7 separate regions of the Homo sapiens genome follow, and regions 1, 2, 3, 4, 5 and 6 are each linked to region 7. The links are contacts of gene promoters, found by promoter capture Hi-C in blood cells and fetal thymus (Javierre and others, 2016). All regions are on one chromosome and are shown on one strand. Each heading gives the region's core, a stretch centred on a gene start or on the middle of the fragment in contact. The rest is flanking DNA. Distances are from core to core; before and after follow the strand shown.

Region 1 (3,027 bases), core at 170-2,669, 470 kb before region 7:
CTACCACCATCACTGCCATCACCACCATAATCACTGCCATCATTACCACCATCACCACCCCCACCCCCACTACCACCACCACATCATCACCACCATTACCACTACCACCATCACCACCATGACCACCACAATCACCACCATCATTACCACCATCTCCATCTCCATCACCACCACCACCACCACCACCACCACTACCTCCAGTACCTCCAACACCCCCAGCACCATCATTTCCTTTCCCCCAATCACTCCTCCAGTTCTTTGAAGGGGGTGTTGCTCATATGGGTTAAGTTAGATGGGGAGTAACCAAAGTCTTGGGACACACAGACATCACTCAAGCTGGGACAGTCAAAGGACAGATGCACACTGAGTGCTGCAGTAGAACAGTCCTCGCTAGATGCTGACAGAGAGAACAACCAACAGAACACTGATGAGATAATTGAGATAACGAGGCAGCACAGACTTGGATACCCCCATGGGGCTCCCATGTGGCTCCCTGGGAGGCAGACAGTGCCTGGTCTGCCTTGTGAAGGCTGCACAGCCTCTGGATGCTGCCTCTGCTCCTGTCCACCTAGGCTGTCTCCCTGACCGTGGGGGCCCACCAACTCTTCTTCCCCTTCCCTCACCAATATCCTCCCCCAATCTGGTTTTCCCTCTTTCACTTTGTTTTATCCAGAAGCTTTCCCTTTGTCCCTCCTAGTCTCTTGCTTATGGCCTAAACCTCGAGGCTCATTGGCACGCTGGAGCTGGCTCATGCTGGCTCTTGAGAGCTGGACATTAAAATTTCAGGAATTTTGCAAGGTGATTGTTAAATATGGCCCTCATCAAAAATTAAATTATACGAACTTAAAATTAAATGAATTATATTGAGAACAAAGGTAATGCATACTGAAAACTCATTCCTTCCAAATTATTTTACTACATTGTACTAATATCTGTGCTCTTGAGGTACTTATGACCATTTTATCCATATGGTGGACATGCTATAAGGCAGTGAGCTACTGCACGTCTCTTCCCAACCCTGTGTTAAGTGACTCCCTGTTGGTTGCTTGAAATTGGCCACAGTGGGGGTATTTACAACACGAAAAAAATAAATGTTATAAATTGGGGCTTGATTTATTGTTTTATTGATTGTCTTTTTTTTTTTTTTTTTAAGATGGAGTCTCACTTTGCCACCCAGGCTGGAGTGCAGTGCTGTGGTCATGGCTCACTGCAGCCTTGACCTGCTGGGGCTTAAGCAATCCTTCCACCTCAGTCTTCTGAGTTGCTGGGACTACTGGTGTATGCCTCCATGCCTGGCTAATTATTTTATTTATTTATTTTTGTAGAGATGGTATCTCACTATGTTGCCCAGGCTTGTCTTGAACTCCTGGGCTCAAGTGATCCTCCTATCTCAGCCTCCCAAAGCGCTGGAATTACAGGTGTGAGCCACCATGCCCAGCCCTGAATTGCCTCTTTTAGAAGCTAATTCAAGCTGAGTTTCCGTTGCTTGCAACCAAAATGTGCCCATCAATATATCCTGTTACCTAATTCTTGATTTATTTTTCTTCTATCCTTGCTGGATATTTTTAGTTTTATTATAAATATGTCTTTTATCATAAGCCATCCATGCCCTCTTTTGGAACTGGGAGACAGAAATGGTCATTTTTTTGCAAATATTGCACTGACAACCAGGATGGCCTCATTGAAACCTGAGAGGCTGCTTCCCCATCCCCTCATTCCAGCCACAGAATGTGGGCCCTGCTGGAAGCTCCCAGGCCTTCTCCCCTCACACCTAAACCATCCGCTGACTCTTCCTCATCAGTTTCCAGGCCTGCCCTATTCCCACAGCCTCCACCCTGGCCAGGCCCTTGCAGACTCACCAGCCCATCACCTGGCCGGCTGACCTCAGCAGCTCCCAGCTCCTGCAACAGGAGCTCCAGTAACATCCTGGACTCTTCTCTGTTCTCTGCCTCAAGGTCTTTGGCTGAACCTTGACACCTGTTCTCCATTTGCATCCCCCACTCCCTTTGGTCTAACTTGGGCTTAATTTAAGTGAACTTTTACCAAACACTTCCTCTGTGCCCAGTACCATGCTGGCCACCTGCGCTGACTTACCCACTCCTCTCAATAATCCTGCCAGGCTGAACTGGTTCTATTCCTATTTGATGGAAAACCAAAGCTTGGACGGCTGCAATGGCCTGTCCAAGGTCACATGGCTCGTCAGTGATGGAGCCAAGACTTGAAAGCTGGTCTTTCTGATCGGGAGGCCCTGCTCCTTCCTTGATCCCATGCGGTATCCCGTCTGGGGGAGGGAGGTGGGGTGCAAGATGCTGAATCTGTTCCCACATCTCTGACTGTGGGAAATGACTCTTTCTATCCATGAGGCTAGAACTACTCGGCGACCCCTTCCCTTCCTCTTTCCCTTTCCCTCTGTCCTGCCGACCAGAGCTCAGGACTCCTGACACAGACATTCCGACTCCCAGGTGCTGACTCTCCCCGCAACTCACCACTGTGCTGGAGTTCCCACAGCCACGCCCTCTCCCCACTCCACCCTCCAGGGTTCTTCCTTCTTTCAAAACCTGAGTCAAAGCGCACCCTTTCCAAGAAAACTTCTGTGTGCTAATCCACCCCACCTTGTGGCTCCTGTGCTCCTGGCTCCCCTCAGCCTATGGCACAGGGAAAACTCTGGGCTCTGCAACCCTCCTCCATCAGACTGGACAGCCCACGGGCAAGGGTTGTGTCTCCTGCATCAGACCAGAGTAACACTGAGGACTGACTATGTGAAAAACACTTTGTGGCCCCCTAAGGCACTATGGGGAGGTATAATCAAGGGTGGGGGCACAGATCACAGAGGCAGTGGGAGGTCTGAGAGATGGGGAGAAAGCCAGGTGACCTGAGCTGATGGGGTGGGGCTTCCTGGGAGAGGAGAGGTCTGAGCCAACAACATCCCTTACCTGGATATGGCAAATTCTCCCTACTGGTCCCCCACACCACGGCAAAGTATGTTCTGCATGGAGACCAGGGTGGCCTTTGTGAAACATCCGACAG
Region 2 (3,158 bases), core at 126-2,625, 330 kb before region 7:
TTTAGTAGAAATGGGGTTTCACCATGTTGGCCAGGCTGGTCTCGAACTCTTGACCTCAGGTGATTCACCCACCTTGGCCTTCCAAACTGCTGGGATTACAGGCGTGAGCCACTGCACCCGGCCTGTATTTCATAAAATGTAACACTTGAATGCAATGATATCAATTCGGCTAAACAGAAAGTTCCTAAGATCATTTGATGTCTATCTTTTTGCCCAACTGATCAAGACAAATTTGTATTTAAATAGCAGTGTCCCTTAATCATAATATGTAAACAAAGTCACCAATGAGCATCTAGGATTAATGGAGAAGATCAGTGCCTTTGGCTTCAGAAAAACTGGGCTAGACCCCCAGTTCTGCTGCTAATGTGCTGTGTGATTTTGGCAGAACTCTTAATCTCTATGCATCTCAGTCTTCTCCCCTTTAGAAATGGGAGTAATTCTACCTTTTTCACAGAGTTGTTGGGATATAGTACATATAAAAATGCCTGTCATGATGCCTGGCATATTGTAGGTGCCTGATGAATGTTGAGTAAAGAAAACATGCTTTGGCAACAAATTTCTCTTCTCTTCTGACTTTCCCCAATTACAATGGCAGCTGAGTCATATTTTGGAGCCATTCTGAAGCCCAAGTTTCAGAAACAACAACAGCAGCAGCAGCAGCAGCAACAACAACATATGGGTAGCTTTGCTTTGCTCTAAGAGCATTGGATGAACTTCCAGTCTTGGTGTAAATGCCCTGGTAGAGTGAAGGCCCTGGTGTCTGAGGCTCAGCGTCCAGTCCTGGAGTTCACCATCCATTCCCAGGTGCCCTCCCTCTGCCCAGCCCTCTGGCTCCAGAGCGGACTGAAGGTCTCCCACATGCTTAAGGGGTCCAATTTTTAAGCCTCATTCACTGTGCTGTGTGAAGCAGGGATGGCAACTACAGCTCACAGGTCAAACCCCACTGCTACTTGTTTTGGTAAATCAAGTTTTATTGGAGCATAGCCACACCCATTCATTTCCCTGTTGTCTATGTCTGCTTTGTGCTACAATGGCAGAGCTAAGTAGTTGCAGTACAAAGAGAGTATACGACTTGCAAAGCCTAAAATATTTAGCATCTGTCTTTTTAACAGAAAAAGCTTGTCCATCTTGGTGCAGAGGAAACAGAATGTGCTAGGGGCCCTGGGACCAGTCCTGGCTCTGTATCTGACTTGCTTGGCATCCCTGGGGAGCTCACTGTCCTTCTCTGGTCTCTGAAGCACGAAAGGTTGAATTAGTACTTGGAAGTTTTCTTTAGTTCTAATAACTTAGCAGTCTTTGCTCTATTGCTCTTTAGGGATTCCTGAGGCTCTTATCAGAGAATTTTACTTTTTTGGGTATTGAAGGTCAGTGGAGAGGACGATTCATCTTAGAGCCAATGCCATTCCTAGAGAGAGGCCAGATAGTCACTCAAGGAACAAAGTCTAACTTTTCAATGGGGCATCTCTAAAGAGAAAACATTTAACATTTCTTTTCACAACAGAAGGCAGTAACAAGAAGTCCAAAGTCAGCCCTTTCTTTCATAAAGTGGGGAGCTACTTCTGAGGACTGAATAACTGCTGATGGGTTGTTCTGATGGCAGAACAAATGAGGATTCATTGGGGGAAAGCTTGTGTATCACATCTGCTCCTATGGCAGGTGAATAAAAGCTCTGGGTGAGGAAACACTCACACCTGAGCACCTGGCCCTTGTCACCAATCTGCAACTCAACTGTCTAGGACCATGGCTTCTAGTTAAAGCAGAAATCCCTGCTCCTCAAGCTTTGGCAAGAGCCATTTGAAGCCTCCTTGCTCCAGACAGGCTGTGGCCAGAAACCACTCTAGAAACTCTGTACCCAATGTCTGTAGATCCCAGTATTAAGACTGGGGCCCACCTGTAAGAGAGTCACCAACCTAGTAGCCATCTCCTTAGAACCTGTGGCTCACAGTCAGTCCAGCCTGGCCCTGCCAGCAGTCACTCTGCCTGTCCTCTGCCAGGGACCAGGAACATCCCTGCCAGTATGGGCACCTGTGGCTGGTTCAGTGAAGACATCCTCAGCAGCAGTGGGAAAGGGATCATGCAGTTCTTAAGTGAGTGCCTGGCCAACTGCTTGCAGAAGTTGCAGCAGTTGGAGCAGGAGAATGAGAAGCAGGGGTGGTGCTGAGAGCCAGCAGTGGAGCAAACGGCAGTGCCCTGACATATGCTCCAATTACTGCTCACACTTTGAGACCATTAAGGAGCTCCAACAAAAAGTAAGATGAGGCCTTGAGCTCTGGTGTCAGTGGCATGGAAAGAGAGGGCTGAGGATTGGTGATGGGAGAATTGGAGGGGTTGCCTGGGGGGATGACAGTCCATGAATGTTCATAAAGATGGATTGAAGGTGCCAGAAATAAACTGTGATGTCAAGGGCCCAACCACTTGGTTCTACAACCAGTTCCATTCAACAAGCATCATTGCTGATGTCTGCAATGAGAGGACTGTGAGTGGGATATGGATTTATTTCTTCACAATCCAGATCCTGCCTTATTTAAGGACATGCCACCATTCACTCACTAGTTATTGAGCACCAGCAATGAGTGATTGCATCGCTGGGTGCTGGGGAGCAGACAGTGCCTACAAAATGAAGCCTCAGCTCTTTAGCCTGGCATTCAAGGCTGCCATGTTCTCAGCCTCACTTTTTTTTGTAGCTTACCTCTTTCTAATCTTCTGCAAACATCCTGTGCTTCTATCAAACTGCTTTGTCACTTGCCCTATGCTTCTGTCAAACTGCGTTGTCACTCACAAAATGTTTGTTCACATGTGTAGTGCTTTCTTTCTCATCTTTGCATGGCCAAATTCTAGTTGGGCTTCAAAACCCAGGTGATATTCCCCACCTCCTGGAATCCTCTCTAGAAGCTAATCCCCCTGGGATGGATTTTGCCTTCCATGGAATAACCCACAGCCGCATATCTGAACGTCTCTTGTGGCATTCTCATCTTTCTATTTGTTTTGGAGTTCCTGTTCTGTACAAGATGGTGGAAAGGATGAACAACCTAACTTCATTTTTAAAAAATTAATCACATTTATTTAGTATTTTCCATTAAGTGCTGATATTCAGCTGGGATGTAGCAGTCTGTCTCTGTGGCCGTTTCCACATCTCCTTTTAGATTGCTGCCAACAGT
Region 3 (3,357 bases), core at 685-3,184, 380 kb after region 7:
GTGAAGTCTATAACAAAAAATGCTATCCAACAGTGGAAAATAATGGACTATAAACCCCTGTGGTGATGCTGTGATCCCACTGGCTACCCAGATCCAGCAGGCTTCCAATGGAGAGCTTTTCATCCCAGCTGCATAGGTATTGGCAGCAGGCAGTCCTCAGCCATCAGCCCCTCAGGGGTTGCTTCAGCTGCAGTGTCACCTCACCTGAGTTCACACCCTACATCCAATGAATAATTGATACAGAAGTATAAAGGCTTGGCCATCTTGGCCCCACTCAGGACAATACTGAGCTCCAGAGCTCCTCATGGAAGCTCACTTTCTACCTGTGCCCAATCCTGCTTTCTTCTCCCCTTCCACAGGTATTGATCCCAGGGCAATCTTTAATAAGCACCCTGCACACTGAACTCAGCTCTGACTCTGCTTCCCAGAGAATCAACCTACAACTGCCGCACACATCAACAATGATGAGTTACAGAATCATAAAGCCAAATGAAGGAAGCAAGTCCCAGCAGAGTGCATAAGGCGGATTCCATTGTATAAAGTTCCAAATAGAAAAACTAAACAAGATATTGTTTAGAGGTGCATATGTAGATAGCAAAACCTTTTTTAAAGGCAGGTGAAAGGTTTTCTTCCCTTCTGACACCAACTCAGTGTCCTACAATTCAATTCAATTCTAACACTAACACCCTGGAGTTAGTGTCAGACTCCACGTGTCTAAAGGCTCAGTCCCACAAGACTGTCCTCACATCAGATACCAGCCACAAGTATCAGGCCCGCAGGTTACCCACACTTCTGTCTGACATGGCTACAAATTCAGGGTTCTCACAACCTCCCCCTCCGCAAAGTTCAATAATTCTCTAGAATGACTCACAGAACTCAGGTAAGTGCTTTACTTATTATTGTGGGTTTACTATAAAGGATACAACTCAGCAACAGCTGAATACAAGAGATGCCCGGGGCAAGGTCAGGGGCGAGGAACACGGAGCTTCCATGCCCTGTCCGGGTGGGCCACCTCCCAGCACCTTGATGTGTTCACCAATCCAGAAACTCTCTGAACCCCCTCATTTAGAAGCTTTTATTGAGGTTTCATCATGTAAGCATGATCGATTATTAACTCAGTCTCCAGCCTCTGTCCCCTCTCTGGAGGGTGGGGAAGGGTTAGGGCTGAAATGTCTAGGCTTCTCATCAAGGTTTGGTCTTTCTGGCAGCCAGCCCCCATCCTAAAGCTACTTAGCGGCCCACCAAGAGTCACCTCATTAGAACCAAAGATGCTCCTATCACACAAGAAATTTCAAAGGATTTAGGAGCTCTGGGTCAGGACAAGAAAAGATGCTTCTATCACTGAGGAAATTACAAGGATTTTAGAAGCTGTGTGCCAGGAAATAGAGACAAAGGCCAACTATATATTTCTTATTATTTCACAGCAAGTAATAAAGAAAACTCAGGATAGTGATGACACCTGAGCAGTAATAGGGGAGATATCACTGGGGAGAAACAGCAGGGTCTCTAAGATACAGGTATGTTTTACTATTATTTATTATTTAAACTACACAATTTCTAAATTTTTTGTATGCAGGAAATTATACAATGAAAAATTTTTAAGCAGATGACAAAAATAATACCAATATTTTAAGTAAAGAAAGTGACTAATGACTAGAAAATAACGATGCTATTGAGAGATGCAGCAAACTGAAAAGGGATTCAGTGGAATGGAAAGGTGGCGAGTTTAGCTTAGAACACAAGCACGAAGGTGAGAACAATCAATCAATTTTCTAAGAGAAAGAATTGGAGCAGGAGGGGAGGTTTTGGATTGCATAGGAGAGAGGTAACCACTGATACCTTGAAAGTCGATCAGAAAGAAGAACTCTGCAGACAATGAAGACCCGAGGTCAGGAACACATTGAGCAGTGGATGAGGATGCAGATAGACATGAATTAGAAAATAGGGTTAGGACGGAAGCGGTGGCTTACACCTGTAATCCCAGCACTTTGAGAGGCTGAGGGAGGAGGATGGCTTGAAGTAAGGAGTTCTAGACAAGCCTGGGTCACATAGCAAGACCTCATCTCTACTTTAAAAAAAAAAAAAAAATTAGCCGGGCATTGTGTGGAGTGCCTGTAGTCCCAGCTACTCGGGAGGGTGGGGTGGGAGGGCCACTTGAGCCCCAGAGATGGAGGCTGCAGTGAGATATGATCACACCACTGCACTCCAGCTTGGGCAGTAGAGCAAGACCCTGTCTCAAAACAAAAAAAAAAGGGTCGGAGGAACCCAGGAGGGAGGAGAGTTAAGGTAAGTCAGGAGACTTTGTTTGCATTGTTTGTCTTGAGTTCCCAGAGCAAACAATGCAGCCCCAACAAATGTGTGCATAAAAGACATTCCCCGCCAAATAGAAAACACTTTGTTGGTTTTATGCCCCTTGGGTTCTGTGCCACTGTTCCCATCCATTTAATAACAATAATCAAGAATGTTCTCAAAAATAAGACTCTTATTCAGTAATAGAACTACTTCATTTGGAAAGTGATTTTTGAAATAGAATAATTACTATGTTGCAGAAAGAAAACAACTTTCTGGAGATGTTTCCAGAGCTTCCACTAACACAGTGTAGCCAGTGTGTCTTCATGGCTCCCTAGCAAAGCTGTTTCTCTTCCATCTGCCACTGTGGCTTCTGTCATTGCTAATTCTTGGTTCATAGCAATTATGAGATTTTCAGGTATTTACATTAATGTCTTACTAGATAAAGTCTTACTTCATAGGGAAACCAAATCTTATAATATTGCATCTGTCCTTACTTAAGCTTAAAGTTATATCCGCATAGACCTGCACAGGTAATAAAACTGCCCAAATGGTGGATGTATATTCAGTTAGGGATAATCTAAGAGAAGGTGGAAGATAGCATTGAAATTGATATTTCATAGTCACCACCTTTATTCTGCAAACATTTCTGATTTGTTCTTTTAAAACACCTATCACTCTGCCCCTTGGAGAATGCTTACAAATATTAACTAAAAACTGTGTATTCATAGTTTTTGTGTGAAATAATTCCAACTCGGTTCCATTTCTCCTTTAATCTTTGTAGAAAAATGTGGATACATCAGTTTGAGCAAAGGATGACTGATGTCTGTTATCCATTAGTTTGGTCAACAGATATCAATACAGTGCCCACTTCAATCCTATGGGAGTGTGAATCTAGGGGAATCCAGACAAACTGGCCCCTGCTTTCATGGAGCTTGTGTATTAAGATGATACCTGGGATTTAATTTACAGGCACAACTGAGTGACAATACAGAGGGGACAGTGCCACTAAAGATTTGTATTACTTACGTTTCCCAGAGAAGGAAGCATGTCATTCTGTGCAAGACC
Region 4 (3,020 bases), core at 437-2,936, 430 kb before region 7:
TGGATAAATATGTATCAAGCTCCTTTTATGCCAGGCACTGTCCTAGGTGCTTGGGATATATCAATGAACAAAAGAGACAAAGATTTCTGCCTCTATAGAGCTTGCATTATAGGTAAGGGTTGGGCAAGAGCAACAAATGTAATAAAGAAATAAATAATACTATACTTGAAGGTGGTAAGTGCGCAAAGAAGTAGGGAATATCAAGGGAGATTGGAGTGCTATGGCAGGGTGGGGAGGAGAGCAATGTTAAATAGGATGGCCAAGGTTGGGTTCACTGAGAAGGTAAAACATAAGCAATGACTTTGCGATGGAATAGTTGCCCTGACGCCCTTCATGGGCGGGAACTGGAGCACTTTGTTTTTTGTTTTTGTTTTGTTTTTTTTTGAGACTGAGTCTCGCCCTGTTGCCCAGGCTGGAGTGCAGTGGTGAGATTTCAGGTCACTGCAACCTCCGTCTCCCGGGTTCAAGTGATTCTCCTGCCTCAGCCTCCCGAGTCGCTGGGATTACAGGCACGGGCCACCAAGCCCGTCTAATTTTGTATTTTTAGTAGAGATGGGGTTTCTTATGTTGGGATTACAGGCACACACCATCACGCCCAGCTAAGGAGCACTTTGTTTCACTCAGCCTGTTGCTGGCCACTCCTTGTGGGAGTGAGTGTGTGAGCAAGTGTGGGAACCGGAGCAAATGAACGCTGGAACCAGCCGGTTGCTCCTCTCTGGCAGGAGCAGGCTCTGTTCGGGCCCTGCAGCAGCGTCCCTATTCTTTCAGCTGTGCTGTCAGGGGATGGCCAAATACCAACCAGTTCAATGGAGGTTCAGGGTGGCAGCCCCTGCCTTCTTGGCACCCAGGTTCTTGTCTGGCGTCCAGGAAGAAGAATCAGGTCACATAAACTGTTTGAAAGGTGACGAATGCAAAATACTTTACTGGGTGTTGGGTGGCTCTCAGTGGAAAGGGAGGATGGAAAGGTGATGGGATGGTGATCTTTCCCTGAAGCCCCACCGTCTCCGGCAGGGCCCCTCTCCAAAGCTGCACCATCTGAAGTTAGCCAGATCTATCCACAGTCTCCGATGCTCAGTTGCTTTTCTGCTCGCCGCTCAGCTGCTTATATCCTCAGTGCTCAGCCGCTTGTGTTGCTCTGCCAGCTGAAGTCTTTTATGGGCACAGCATGTGGGCAGGCAGGCCAAAAAGGTAACATTTTTGGGGAAAATGGGGTCCTTTAGGGCCGAGGTTCCAGGCTTAAGGGTAGGGTTTAGCCAGGAGCCCAGCCCTTCTGTATCAACTTGACGGAGTGAGGGAGGCAGTCAAGCGTGTGTGGGGACCACTCCAGGCACAGCAGCTAGTGCTGATGATCATCCTAACACACAGTGCCTTGAGCAGAGGAGTGACAGGCCACTTGATGAGAGGCTGCGAGGCTAGGAGCAGAAACAGAGAGCCCAGTGTGCAGGGAGGTGAAGAGCCCCTGGCACTCAGAGTGAAGACGGTCAGAGGTGGCTGGATTCTGAGCATCATCTGAAGAAAGCACTGCCAGGAGTTCTTGAAGGACTGCATATTGTAAAAGAAAGAAGTCAAGGAGGTCTCTGAGTCTTTTGTCTGAGCAACTGGATGATAGGAGTTGTGGGATGGAAGTTGGCTGGTATGAAAGATGGGGAGTCAGTTTCAGACATGCTAAATTTACATTGTCTTTTGGACACCCAAACGGAGATCTTTTAGAAGTCTCATGCCAGTAATCACACTTGTTACTAAATTCTGTAGCCATCAGGGTTTTTGCCTGCAAAGATCAGAAGCCACACTCTGAAGCCAGTTTGTTAAAGGATGTTAGGTAAGCCATAGACTCTCCAGGAAGAACTCGCAGGGAACAGGTTTGAAGGCAGCACAGCCCGGAGCAAGCCCACCCTTGCCACTATCTGCAGGTGCAGATTCAGTAGCCCATTCCACTTGGCGCTATCACCAAACTTGTGGCGCTGCTGCTTCTAGAAACTGGAGGTCTGCAGTTATTCCTTCCAGCATGGATTCCACCAGGTGCCTCCTTTTTTAGGACATTAGCTCCCAGCTTACAGGCTTCTGTGATGTGTGTGACTGATCATGTGTCTGTGCTCCAGCTGCAAGGGAGGCTGGAAGGCTAATTTCTGGCTTCTATAGCCAGGAGGCACAGACACTAGAGGGAGAATTCCTTTACAAAGGAGCTGGGCGACTAAGTGTAAGAACAATTGTCCACAAGGAAGGAGCAAGGACTAACACTGATTGCGCACTTAATAATGTTCCAGGCACTTCGCTAAGCATTTTATATAAGATAAGGGAATAAACCCTGTATCTAATCTTCACAGCAATCTCATGATGCTGTCCTTGTTTTCATTTTACACATGAGGAAACATTTTTAGCGAGATTAAATGACTTGCTGAAAAGGTCACACAGCTCCTAAGCAGTGGAGACAGGAACTGAATCTAGGAAGTCTGATCCAAGGACACTGGGATTATGAAGCCCATTTTATAGATGAGGAAATTCTAAGTTAGAGAGGTTAAGTAACTTGTCCAAGGTCACATAGCTTGTAAATGATCAAGCAAAGATATAATTCCAGTTTGGCCTGGCTCCAAAGCTGGTGCTCTGTTTCCTGTTCTCTATGGCCTTGAGCAATTATTGAGCCCCAAAAGAATACAGAGGCTAGCAAATCCCATAAGCAGAGGCTTGTCAAAAATACCTTATGTGGGCTGGGTGTGGCGGCTCATGTCTGTATTCCCAGCACTTTGAGAGGCTGAGGTAGGAGGATCACTTGAAGCCAGAAATTTGAGATCAGCCTGGGCAACAGAGCAAGACCCCGCATCTACCAAAAAAAGAAAAAAATATTGGACAGGCATGGTGGCATGCACCTGTTGTCCTAATTACTGGGTTACTTGGGAGGCTGAGGTGGGAGGATCACTTGAGCCCAGAAGTTTGAGGCTGCTGTGAACCATGATCATACCACTGTACTCCAGCCAGGGCAACAGAATGAGACTGTCTCTAAATTAAAAAAAAAAAAAGAAAAA
Region 5 (3,421 bases), core at 457-2,956, 360 kb after region 7:
CTAAATTTCAACCCCAGCCCCTCTCAGCTGCAGACTAAGCACTTCTGCCTCGTCAGGGATCTGCTGGGAGACACACCATTCTGTGTCCCCAGGGCAGGCTTGCCAATCTCAATTTTACAGCATCCCTAAAACAAACCTGAATCTGGGCCCTAGCCCTTCTCAGCTGTGGTCAGAGAGAAGTTCTAACTGCCCAGGAATCCAGAGGGAGGCACTCTCATCTGAGCTCCACAGGCAGCCCAGCTGACCTGGGTCCCACAGAAGATCCTGAAATGGCCCTGAAAAGCAGTCCCAGCCCCTCTCAGCTGAGGCTTGAGAGTAGTGCTGCGCACACAAGACCTGGAGACAGACATGCTCATCAGTGCTCCTATAGCCTGACCCACTGATCTTGGTCCTGCTGTGGATCTTGAAATGGCCCTGTAATTCAGCACCAGCCTCTATCAACTGTGGTCTGAGAGCAAGCCTGCCTGCCCGGGGACCCACCAGAAAACATACCCTTCTGTGACCCCAAAGACAGGTCTGAAGAGCTCAGTCTCAGTTACAGGCTCTAAAGCAGCCCCAAAACTCAGTTCTAACTTGTCTCAGCCATGGACTTGAGCAGCACTACATACCCAGGGTCTCACTTAGTGATCCACTGGGAGACTTTCCAGAGACACAGAAGAAGCCACACCCACTCACACACCTGGTAATGGCCCATCATCTACAGATCTTGAAATGGACTCTCATCCCAGTGCCAGCTCTATGGACCAAGGTTCTACAGACAGTCCAGTCAACCCAGAGACTACACAGAATCCACAGCTACTACAGCCCCTGGTAACAGACCTATCAACTATAGACCCCACTGTGGACTCAGCAATAGCCATGTGATCCAGCTCCAACCTCATTTGACCACAATCCCATCACCACAGGAACCTAATAGAAGAAGGCCTTAAACTGCCAAAAGCAGTCTATAAAGATTTAAAGAGGGCCAGGTGTGGTGGCTTTCACCTGTAATCCCAGCACTTTGGGAGGCTGAGGCGGGTGGATGGCTTGAGCTCAGGAGTTCAAGACCAGCCTGGGCAATATGGCAAAACCCCATCTCCACAAAACATATAAAAATTAGCTGAGTATGGTGGCATATGCCTGTCATTCCAGTTACTCAGGAGGCTGAGGTGGAAGGATCACTTGAGCCTGGGAGCCAGAGATTGCAGTGAGCTGAGATCACGCCACTGCACTCCAGCCTGGGTGACAGAGTAAGATCCTGTCTCAAAAAAAAAAAATGAAGGAGGTATTTGTGCCTTCAAATGCACAGATACCAATGCAAGACTACATGAATAATGAAGAATAAGGCAAGCATGACACCACCAAAGGAAACTAATAAGGCTCCAGTAACTGACCCCAAAGAAAGGGAGATCTACAAATTGCCTGAAAGAAAATTCAAAATAATCATCTTAAAGAAGCTCAATAAGATGCAAAAAGACATAGATAAATAACTAAATGAAATTAGGAAAACAATGCATAAACAAGATGAGAAGCTTAATTTTTAAAATAGAAACCATAAAAATAAAACCAGAAATCCTAGACCTGAAGAATACAATGACAAAACTGAAAAATTCAATAGAAAGCTTCAACAGCAGACTCTATCATGCAGAAGAAAGAATTAGCAAACTCAAAGAAAGGGCATTTTAAATTACTGAATTAGAGGAACAAAAATGTTTAAATAATAAAAAAGAGTAAAGAAGGCATACAGGATCTAGTCTATCCCACCAAGCATACAAATATATACATTATGAGGATTTCAGAAGGAGGAAAGAGAGAAAAGGAAAGAAAGCTTATGTAAAGAAATACATCCCAAATCTTGAGAGGGATATGGACATACAGATTCACGAAATTCAAAGGATCCCAAGCAAGATCAACCCAAAGACAAACACTCTGAGGCACATTAATGCATGTGGGGCTTAAAACCTAGATGGCAGGTTGATAGGTGCAGCAAACCACCATGGCACATATATACCTATGTAACAAACCTGCACATTCTGCACATGTATCCCAGAACTTAAAGTAAAATTTTTTAAAAATTGCCAAAAGACAGAGAGAATCTTGAAAGCAGCAAAAGATAAGAGACTGATTACATACAAGGGAACCCCCATGAGGCTATCAACAGACTTCTCAACAGAAACCTTGCAAGTCAGGACAGTAGGATAATATATTCAAAGTGCTGAAAGAAAAAAACCTGCCAACCAAGAATATCATACCCAGAAAAGTCTGGGCTTCATAAATTAAGGAGATATCCCCAAACAAAAGCTGAGGGAGTTCATTGCCTCCCTTACAAGAAATGATAAAGATAGGTCAATTAGTTGAAACAAAGGAACTCTAATTAGCAACATGAAAACATATGAAAGTTAAAAAAACTCACTGTTAAAGGTAAATATACAAATTCAGAATATACTACTGTAATGGTGGTGTACACATCACTTATATCTGGTATAAAGGTTAAAAGACCAAACTATTAAAACTAATTATAAGTACAATAATTTGTTAAGGAATACACAATATAAAGAGATATAAATTGTGACATCAAAAAAATAGATGGAGGGGTAGTAAAACTGTAAAGTTTTTGAATGCAGTTGAAGTTATCAGCCTAAAATAACCTGTTCTAACATGTTCAGTGTAAGTCTCATGATAACCACAAAGCAAAATTCTATAGTAGATACACAAAAGAGAAAGAGAAAGGAATCAAAGCATGCCACTAGAGAAAGTTGTCAAATCACAAAGGCAGACAGCAAGAAAGGAAAAAAGAAACAAAGGATCTACGAAACAACTGGAAAACAACAAAATGGCAGTAGTAAGTCCTTACCTATCAATAATTACCTTGAATATAAATGGATTACATTCTCCAATCAAATGACACAGAATAGCTAAGGGTACTAAAAAGGCAAACACACACACACACATACACAAAATCTGTATGCTGTCTACAAGAGACTCACTTCAGCTTTAAGGACACACATAGACTAAAAGTGAAGGGATGGAAAAAGATATTCCATGCAAATAGAAACAAAAAAGAGCAAAGGTAGCTATATTTATATCAGAGAAAAGTAGACTTTAAGTCAAAAACTATAAAAAGAAAGAAAGTCATTATGTAATGATAAAGAAGACAATTCATCAAGAGGATATAACAATTGTAAATATATATGCACCCAACATCAGAGCACCTAAATATATAAAGCAAACATTAACAGGTATGAAGGGAGCAATAGACAACAATGCAACAATAGTAGGGGACTTCAGTACAACAGTTTCAACAATGGATCAATCATCCAGACAGAAAATTAGTAAGGAAAGATTAGACTTAAACTACACTTTAGACCAAGTGGACCTAACAGATGTATATAGAACATTATATCAAACAAGAGCAGAATACACATTCTTCTCAAGCACACAC
Region 6 (3,218 bases), core at 542-3,041, 350 kb before region 7:
CTCTGCCTGAAGAAGAACCATGAGGAGGTGAGCATGGGGGAAAAGGTGAACACGGCACAGCAGGTGAGCATGGGGGAGGAGGTGAACATGGGGAGGAGGTGAGCATTGGGGATGAGGTGAGCATAGGGGGAGGTGAACATGAGGGAGCAGGTGTGCATAGGGAAGAGGAGGTGAGCATGGGGAGCAGGTGAGCATAGAGAGCAGGTGAGCATGCAGAGGAGGTGAGCATGGGGAGGAGGTGGGCATGGGGAGCAGATGAGCATGGGGAGGAGGTGAGCATTAGGAGGGGTGAGCATGGGGAGGAGGTGAACATGAGGAGGAGGTGAACCTTGGAGGCAGCCCTCTGGGAATTAGTACTCATCCTGGTCTGTGCTATAGGAAGTGAACTCACTGCGCTGCCAACTTGGTGACCGCCTCAATGTTGAGGTGGACGCTGCCCCACCTGTTGACCTGAACCGAGTTCTGGAGGAGATGAGGTGCCAGTATGAAACCCTGGTGGAGAATAACCGCCGGGATGCTGAAGACTGGTTGGACACCCAGGTAGGTACCTGGAAACAGTCAGTGCAACAGGGGTATGTGGTGGCTCACATGGAAGTGACCCTGGGGCTCTGAATCAAGAAATCTAACTTTGAGTCCCATCTCTGTTTTGACCTTGCTGACAAGGTCAAAACAGACCCACTTCAATTGACCTTGCTGACAAGGTCAAAACAGACCCACTTGGGCAGGTTGCTGTCCTCTGAGCAACAATGCCCTCCAGTATAAAATAAATGAGTGGGACTGGGGAATCGGGAATGTCTTTCTTGGCTCATGATTCTAACCGGCCTCTGTAGCTCTCTGAAGCCAAGTCCCTGGTGTGGCTGACCAGGTTCTGTGTGTGTATGTTTCAGAGTGAGGAGCTGAACCAGCAGGTGGTGTCCAGCTCAGAGCAGTTGCAGTCCTGCCAGGCAGAGATCATCGAGCTGAGACGCACGGTCAACGCCCTGGAGATTGAGCTGCAGGCTCAGCACAGCATGGTGAGCCCCAAGGCAGGGTGGAGCTGCCTCTGGACCAAGCCGAGGAGCACACAAGCTCCCCAGCTTCCATGCTTTGACCACACAGGCGGACTCCAGGGGTCCATGTTCTTGAGCACCAGGGGTTCTCTATGCAGAAAAGAGGGAATGAGGGACCAGCTCCAGTCACAAATCCCCCAGTGGTAAAGGACAAGAGACCTGTAGCAACTGACATGTCCAGGCAGTAGGTCCTATATTTGTGCAAGCAGATACATCTTCTGAGTAACTATCAGTTACTCAGAGATGACACTAACAGGGAGATACTTTCTAGATCAAAGAAGCCACAGGGGCTAATTAGCTCATCTCAAGTGAGATGTCTGATTGTGGTTCATCCTAGCTCAAACTCTGATTCTCCGAGCTTCTGTTCTTGGATTCTGAGGCCTCACTGAGACCCAGATTCCTTCCTTGCTCCTTCTCTGACCTCTAGCCTTTTTCCTCCCTACACAACTCTTGACCTCACAGAGAGATGCTTTGGAATCCACCCTGGCAGAGACGGAGGCCCGCTATAGCTCCAAGGAAGATTCCTTCCTTGCTCCTTCTCTGACCTCTAGCCTTTTTCCTCCCTACACAACTCTTGCCCTCACAGAGAGATGCTTTGGAATCCACCCTGGCAGAGACGGAGGCCCGCTATAGCTCCCAGCTGGCCCAGATGCAGTGCATGATCACCAACGTGGAGGCCCAGCTGGCCGAGATCCGGGCTGACCTGGAGCGGCAGAACCAGGAGTACCAGGTGCTGCTGGACGTCCGGGCCCGGCTGGAGTGTGAGATCAACACGTACCGGGGCCTGCTGGAGAGTGAGGACAGCAAGTGAGTATCACTGCATGTGCTCTTGTCTTCTCACTGCAATCTACCAAGTTCTGGGAAGACAGCATGGTGCCTAGAAAGAGCCTGGCATTCGGAGTCTGGAGTTCTGTTCTCTTAGTTCTGGTCTTCCTGAAAACTCATCACGTGACTCCAGCAAGCCCCCTTTCCTCTCAGGGCCTGTTTCCCTTTTGGTAAAACAAGGGGGCAGGATCAAGGTGGTTTTTAGGGTGCTTCCCAGTTTGCATAGTCTAGGATCTACTTTGAGTTACTGCAAACAGCAACTGGAAAATCACAGTAATTTGTTTTCTTTTTTCTAGGCTCCCCTGTAACCCATGTGCACCTGACTACTCACCCTCCAAGTCATGCCTTCCCTGTCTTCCTGCGGCCTCCTGCGGTCCTAGTGCAGCCCGCACAAACTGCAGCCCCCGCCCCATTTGTGTGCCCTGCCCAGGGGGTCGGTTCTGAGAGCGGGTGACCCAGATGGCCATGGCTATTGTCTCCAGGGCTTGAACTTGGCCTCTACCCAAACTTAACCCTTGTAGCCCAATCCCCTCTCTTCGCGCAGAGCCCAGGCCCAGGGTCTGGCTGAAAAGGCTTTCTGCAAATACATGCCCTAAAGTTTCTCAGAGCCTGTCACAAAGGCCGGCTGCCCCCAAAGGTCTCAACTCCTCATCATTTCAATGGGTGCCAGGGTCTCTGTTCTCAGGCTGCCTCCTGGGTCAGGTTTTCCTTCTAGGTGCTGTTCCGGTGGATTCTGAAATGCAGTAGAGGGCTTTTGTTGGCAGAACAATAAAGTGCATTTGCTCAGGCCCCTGATGCCTAACTTGCACCATTCTGGTGTTGTTGGCTTGTGTCTCTGCTGTGTCCAGGGGGTGACTGTTGGGCAGCCGAATGGGAGATGTGTGACCAAGTATGACCCTTTGGATGACAGGGTCACTATGCCCCTGTTTGGGGTGGGTAGAGGCCTACAGTGAGAGCTTTTGCTTGGCTTCCCTGATGAAGACCTTTCTCCAAGATTCCAGTGTGGTGCCAGGTGTTTTCAGACTGCTGTGGAATCCCTCTTAGTATACGTGGTCACCTGGGGATCCCAGAGTGGGAGGGACAAAACTGAGATGGAAACTGAGATCAGCATAACAGGGAGGGTTTTAGGCCACTTTATCAGCCTCTTGTCTGTGGTCCTTGTAAGACCGGCGATAGGGTGTCTCCCTCCCAGGGTACTTTTAGGGGTGCATTTACATAAGCCCCCTACCATTGCAGCCCTTTCATGCAGCCCTCCAAGTTCAGCAACCCCCTTAACAATCCACAGCCCATCATAAGCAGGAGATGGAGAGTGTGCTCGCCTTCAGGGCTTCTATCCCGAATGCT
Region 7 (2,953 bases), core at 359-2,858:
TTTTTTTATTATTTAGTCATTTGTGTTTTTACTTTGTTTATGATGGTTTCTTACCATACATTTTTTTTTTTTAAATTTTACTTTAAGTTTTGGGATACATGTGCAGAACATGCAGGTCTGTTACATAGTTATACATATGCCATGATGGTTTGCTGCACCTATCAATCCGTCATCTGGGTTTTAAGCCCGACATGCATCAGGTATTTGTCCTAATGCTCTCCCTCCCCTTGTCCCTCACCCCCGACAGGCTCCAGTGTGTGATGTTCCCCTCCCTGTGTCCATGTGATCTCATTGTTCAACTCCCACTTAGGAGTGAGAACATACCTTGCATCTTTTTAATTATAAATAATTGTTTTTAAATATCAGGAGGGATTTAATTGCAAAATGTTCATGCGCAAAATGTTCCTTGAACACTCTAGGAGAGACGCCCTTTCCCTGTTACAGACTGTGTGACTTCAATCTATCTGGGCCTCAAGTACCTTGGATGTAAAGAATTTAGAAAAATTGTGTCTACATAGCAGAATCCTTGTGAAGTATAAACAAGATAACAATTATAGAGGACTCAGAAAATTCCTGACACATAGTAAGCACTCAAAAAATTATAACTATTAGTATTGTTTCATCTTTCATTGGAAGTGTACAGATTAAATACATAATTGTTATTTTGTTCACTAATCACACCATTCTCTAAATAGTTGCTAAATTCTTTCCTATACATGTTTCTTATTTGTCTTGTTTAAGCTTCTGTAGGACAGAAATTAAACTTGATCCTTTGTTTCTTTTCTCCATGTATCAAGCAAAATATCTCCAACATACATTGTGAGAAAAAGCAGCTTTCGAGTATGAGAAAATCTACTTTCAATAACACTTCAGTTAAACACATTCAGTGGGTATCTTGACTTACCAACAAAATAGAACAAAAATGTTCCTTATGATCCCCATCTCTGAAGAACATGCCAACAATAATTTATAAAGGGACCTATCATGCCAATGTATTTTTACTTGTAAAGCAATGAATCATTGCATTATATCTGTTTCAAGCTAAATAGAGTCAATAACATGAAACAGGAATTTCAGTGGGATCTTTTATATCTCACTGACCAGCCACAAAATTCAAAGGAATCACAGTGTTCCTTATTATACACAAGTTACCTCCTATCACCCCCCAAAGATGAATCTTTCATCACATTTTCCTACCAGCATTCTATGTAATTTATTTTTAACCTCTTTGAGAGCAGAGGAGATTTAGTCATCATAAAATCTATTTTCAACTTATTATCCAGGAGTCAAATAAATAAAGAATTAACTTATGAAATCCAATCAAACAATGTCATGTAATGGGTCTACACATCAGAAGACACATCAGATGAAGGAAGGAGAATGAGAGCTGATTCACTTGGCTTAACCAAATTGGATAGCTCAGAATACAACAGGAAAAGGAAATGTTGCCTTTTCTATTTATAGAAATATTTACCAGATAAGGACAACTATCTAATTTACTAAAAAACAACTGATTCTCTATTAGTAATGTGCAAACCACAAGATTATTCACATTGTCATAGTGGTTCTCAGCAGGGTATAAAAAGCAAAAGAGAGAACAAGGAGAGATCAAACTCAGAACACTCACTCTCCTGGAAACCCACCGAGAACCTCCACCCTCTGACACCATGGTCAACTCCTGTTGTGGCTCTGTGTGCTCTGACCAGGGCTGTGGCCTGGAGAACTGCTGCCGCCCCAGCTGCTGCCAGACCACCTGCTGCAGGACCACCTGCTGCCGCCCCAGCTGCTGTGTGTCCAGCTGCTGCAGGCCCCAGTGCTGCCAGTCTGTGTGCTGTCAGCCCACCTGCTGCCGCCCCAGCTGCTGTCAGACCACCTGCTGTAGGACCACCTGCTGCCGCCCCAGCTGCTGTGTGTCCAGCTGCTGCAGACCCCAGTGCTGCCAGTCTGTGTGCTGCCAGCCCACCTGCTGCCGCCCCAGCTGCTGTCAGACCACCTGCTGCAGGACCACTTGCTGCCGCCCCAGCTGCTGTGTGTCCAGCTGCTGCAGACCCCAGTGCTGCCAGTCTGTGTGCTGCCAGCCCACCTGCTGCCGCCCCAGCTGCTGCATCTCCAGCAGCTGCTGCCCCTCTTGCTGTGAATCCAGCTGCTGCCGCCCCTGCTGCTGCCTGCGTCCAGTCTGTGGCCGAGTCTCCTGCCACACCACTTGCTATCGCCCAACCTGTGTCATCTCCACCTGCCCCCGCCCCTTGTGCTGTGCCTCCTCTTGCTGCTAAATCTCTGCTGTGAACACACCACTTCCTTATTACGTCCTTTCCTACAGATGAAGGCTCTCATTGCAAACATGCGGACTGTTCAAGAGAATTGATCTGGGTCCCATAAGCAAACCTCATCCTTAGAAATTCTGTATTTGCATTCTACCTTTTGTCCAAACTCCCTTCCTTCCAAAGGAATTCATTGACAATCTCCTAATAAATTGACAAATTGTCCTCCAACATCCTCCCACCTCTTTGACTTCAGGACATTTATTCATCATGCCTAAGGAATTTGAAGATTGCCTCCATCATTTGTAGGGCCACAGATCTTAAAGCCTCCAACCTTGAAGTCCAGTGAAGTCTCTCTCTTAAAGTCTTTTGCAAACATTTTTGTACCTTGTTATTTCCATGTACCAAAATAAACCTCTATTCTATTGGCACTGAAAATTGAATATGATTCTTATTCTCTTTTTAAAAAGGGTTTTATATTTAGGTCCTGGGTGATTACATTTAACTACACCTGTAGGGCTCACAGCACAGATTAGTCAACCTTCTAACAGAGGTCAACTGACATCGATCACTGCCTAGTTTTTTTCTAGAAAAGTCTTTTCAGGCTTAGGCAAATCAATTAGTCATTTTGTATTCTTTAGACAAAAAGAGTGAAGCTGAAGTCATGAAATATCCATGAATATAACAACAGG

What was found. Contacts are between HindIII fragments. The CHiCAGO score rates a contact against its expected background, and 5 or more counts as called.
Region 1: a fragment that was not itself captured here is called in contact with the fragment with the promoter of KRTAP4-12 in region 7 in 1 of 17 cell types (activated CD4 T cells); the score reaches 6.8 in activated CD4 T cells.
Region 2: a contact is called between a fragment that was not itself captured here and the fragment with the promoter of KRTAP4-12 in region 7, in 2 of 17 cell types (total CD8 T cells and total CD4 T cells). The highest score is 6.5, in total CD8 T cells.
Region 3: a fragment that was not itself captured here is called in contact with the fragment with the promoter of KRTAP4-12 in region 7 in 1 of 17 cell types (erythroblasts); the score reaches 5.7 in erythroblasts.
Region 4: a fragment that was not itself captured here is called in contact with the fragment with the promoter of KRTAP4-12 in region 7 in 7 of 17 cell types (total CD4 T cells, activated CD4 T cells, naive CD4 T cells and 4 more); the score reaches 8.6 in total CD4 T cells.
Region 5: a contact is called between a fragment that was not itself captured here and the fragment with the promoter of KRTAP4-12 in region 7, in 1 of 17 cell types (erythroblasts). The highest score is 7.2, in erythroblasts.
Region 6: a fragment that was not itself captured here is called in contact with the fragment with the promoter of KRTAP4-12 in region 7 in 2 of 17 cell types (naive CD4 T cells and non-activated CD4 T cells); the score reaches 5.0 in naive CD4 T cells.

The regions. Positions count from the first base shown.
Region 1 is chr17:41,595,271-41,598,297 of GRCh38, reverse strand. No RefSeq gene overlaps it. Among named protein-coding and RNA genes, the nearest start is that of KRT14, 9.9 kb to the right of the region's middle. The HindIII fragment of the contact is 1,482 bases long and covers 679-2,160 here.
Region 2 is chr17:41,452,858-41,456,015 of GRCh38, reverse strand. No RefSeq gene overlaps it. Among named protein-coding and RNA genes, the nearest start is that of KRT32, 13 kb to the left of the region's middle. The HindIII fragment of the contact is 509 bases long and covers 1,121-1,629 here.
Region 3 is chr17:40,738,759-40,742,115 of GRCh38, reverse strand. No RefSeq gene overlaps it. Among named protein-coding and RNA genes, the nearest start is that of KRT25, 15 kb to the left of the region's middle. The HindIII fragment of the contact is 1,719 bases long and covers 1,075-2,793 here.
Region 4 is chr17:41,554,828-41,557,847 of GRCh38, reverse strand. No RefSeq gene overlaps it. Among named protein-coding and RNA genes, the nearest start is that of LINC00974, 1.8 kb to the right of the region's middle. The HindIII fragment of the contact is 4,431 bases long and covers 1-3,020 here.
Region 5 is chr17:40,758,997-40,762,417 of GRCh38, reverse strand. No RefSeq gene overlaps it. Among named protein-coding and RNA genes, the nearest start is that of KRT25, 5.4 kb to the right of the region's middle. The HindIII fragment of the contact is 206 bases long and covers 1,604-1,809 here.
Region 6 is chr17:41,476,156-41,479,373 of GRCh38, reverse strand. KRT35 (keratin 35) reads left to right here. Exons shown (of 7, transcript NM_002280.6): 3 at 1-27; 4 at 379-540; 5 at 888-1,013; 6 at 1,636-1,856; 7 at 2,171-2,664. The coding sequence ends at 2,318. Among named protein-coding and RNA genes, the nearest start is that of KRT35, 3.4 kb to the left of the region's middle. The HindIII fragment of the contact is 6,798 bases long and covers 1-3,218 here.
Region 7 is chr17:41,122,837-41,125,789 of GRCh38, reverse strand. KRTAP4-12 (keratin associated protein 4-12) reads left to right here and starts at 1,608. Exons shown (of 1, transcript NM_031854.3): 1 at 1,608-2,699. The coding sequence starts at 1,668. The coding sequence ends at 2,273. RefSeq lists an enhancer at 1,928-2,481. The HindIII fragment of the contact is 5,176 bases long and covers 744-2,953 here.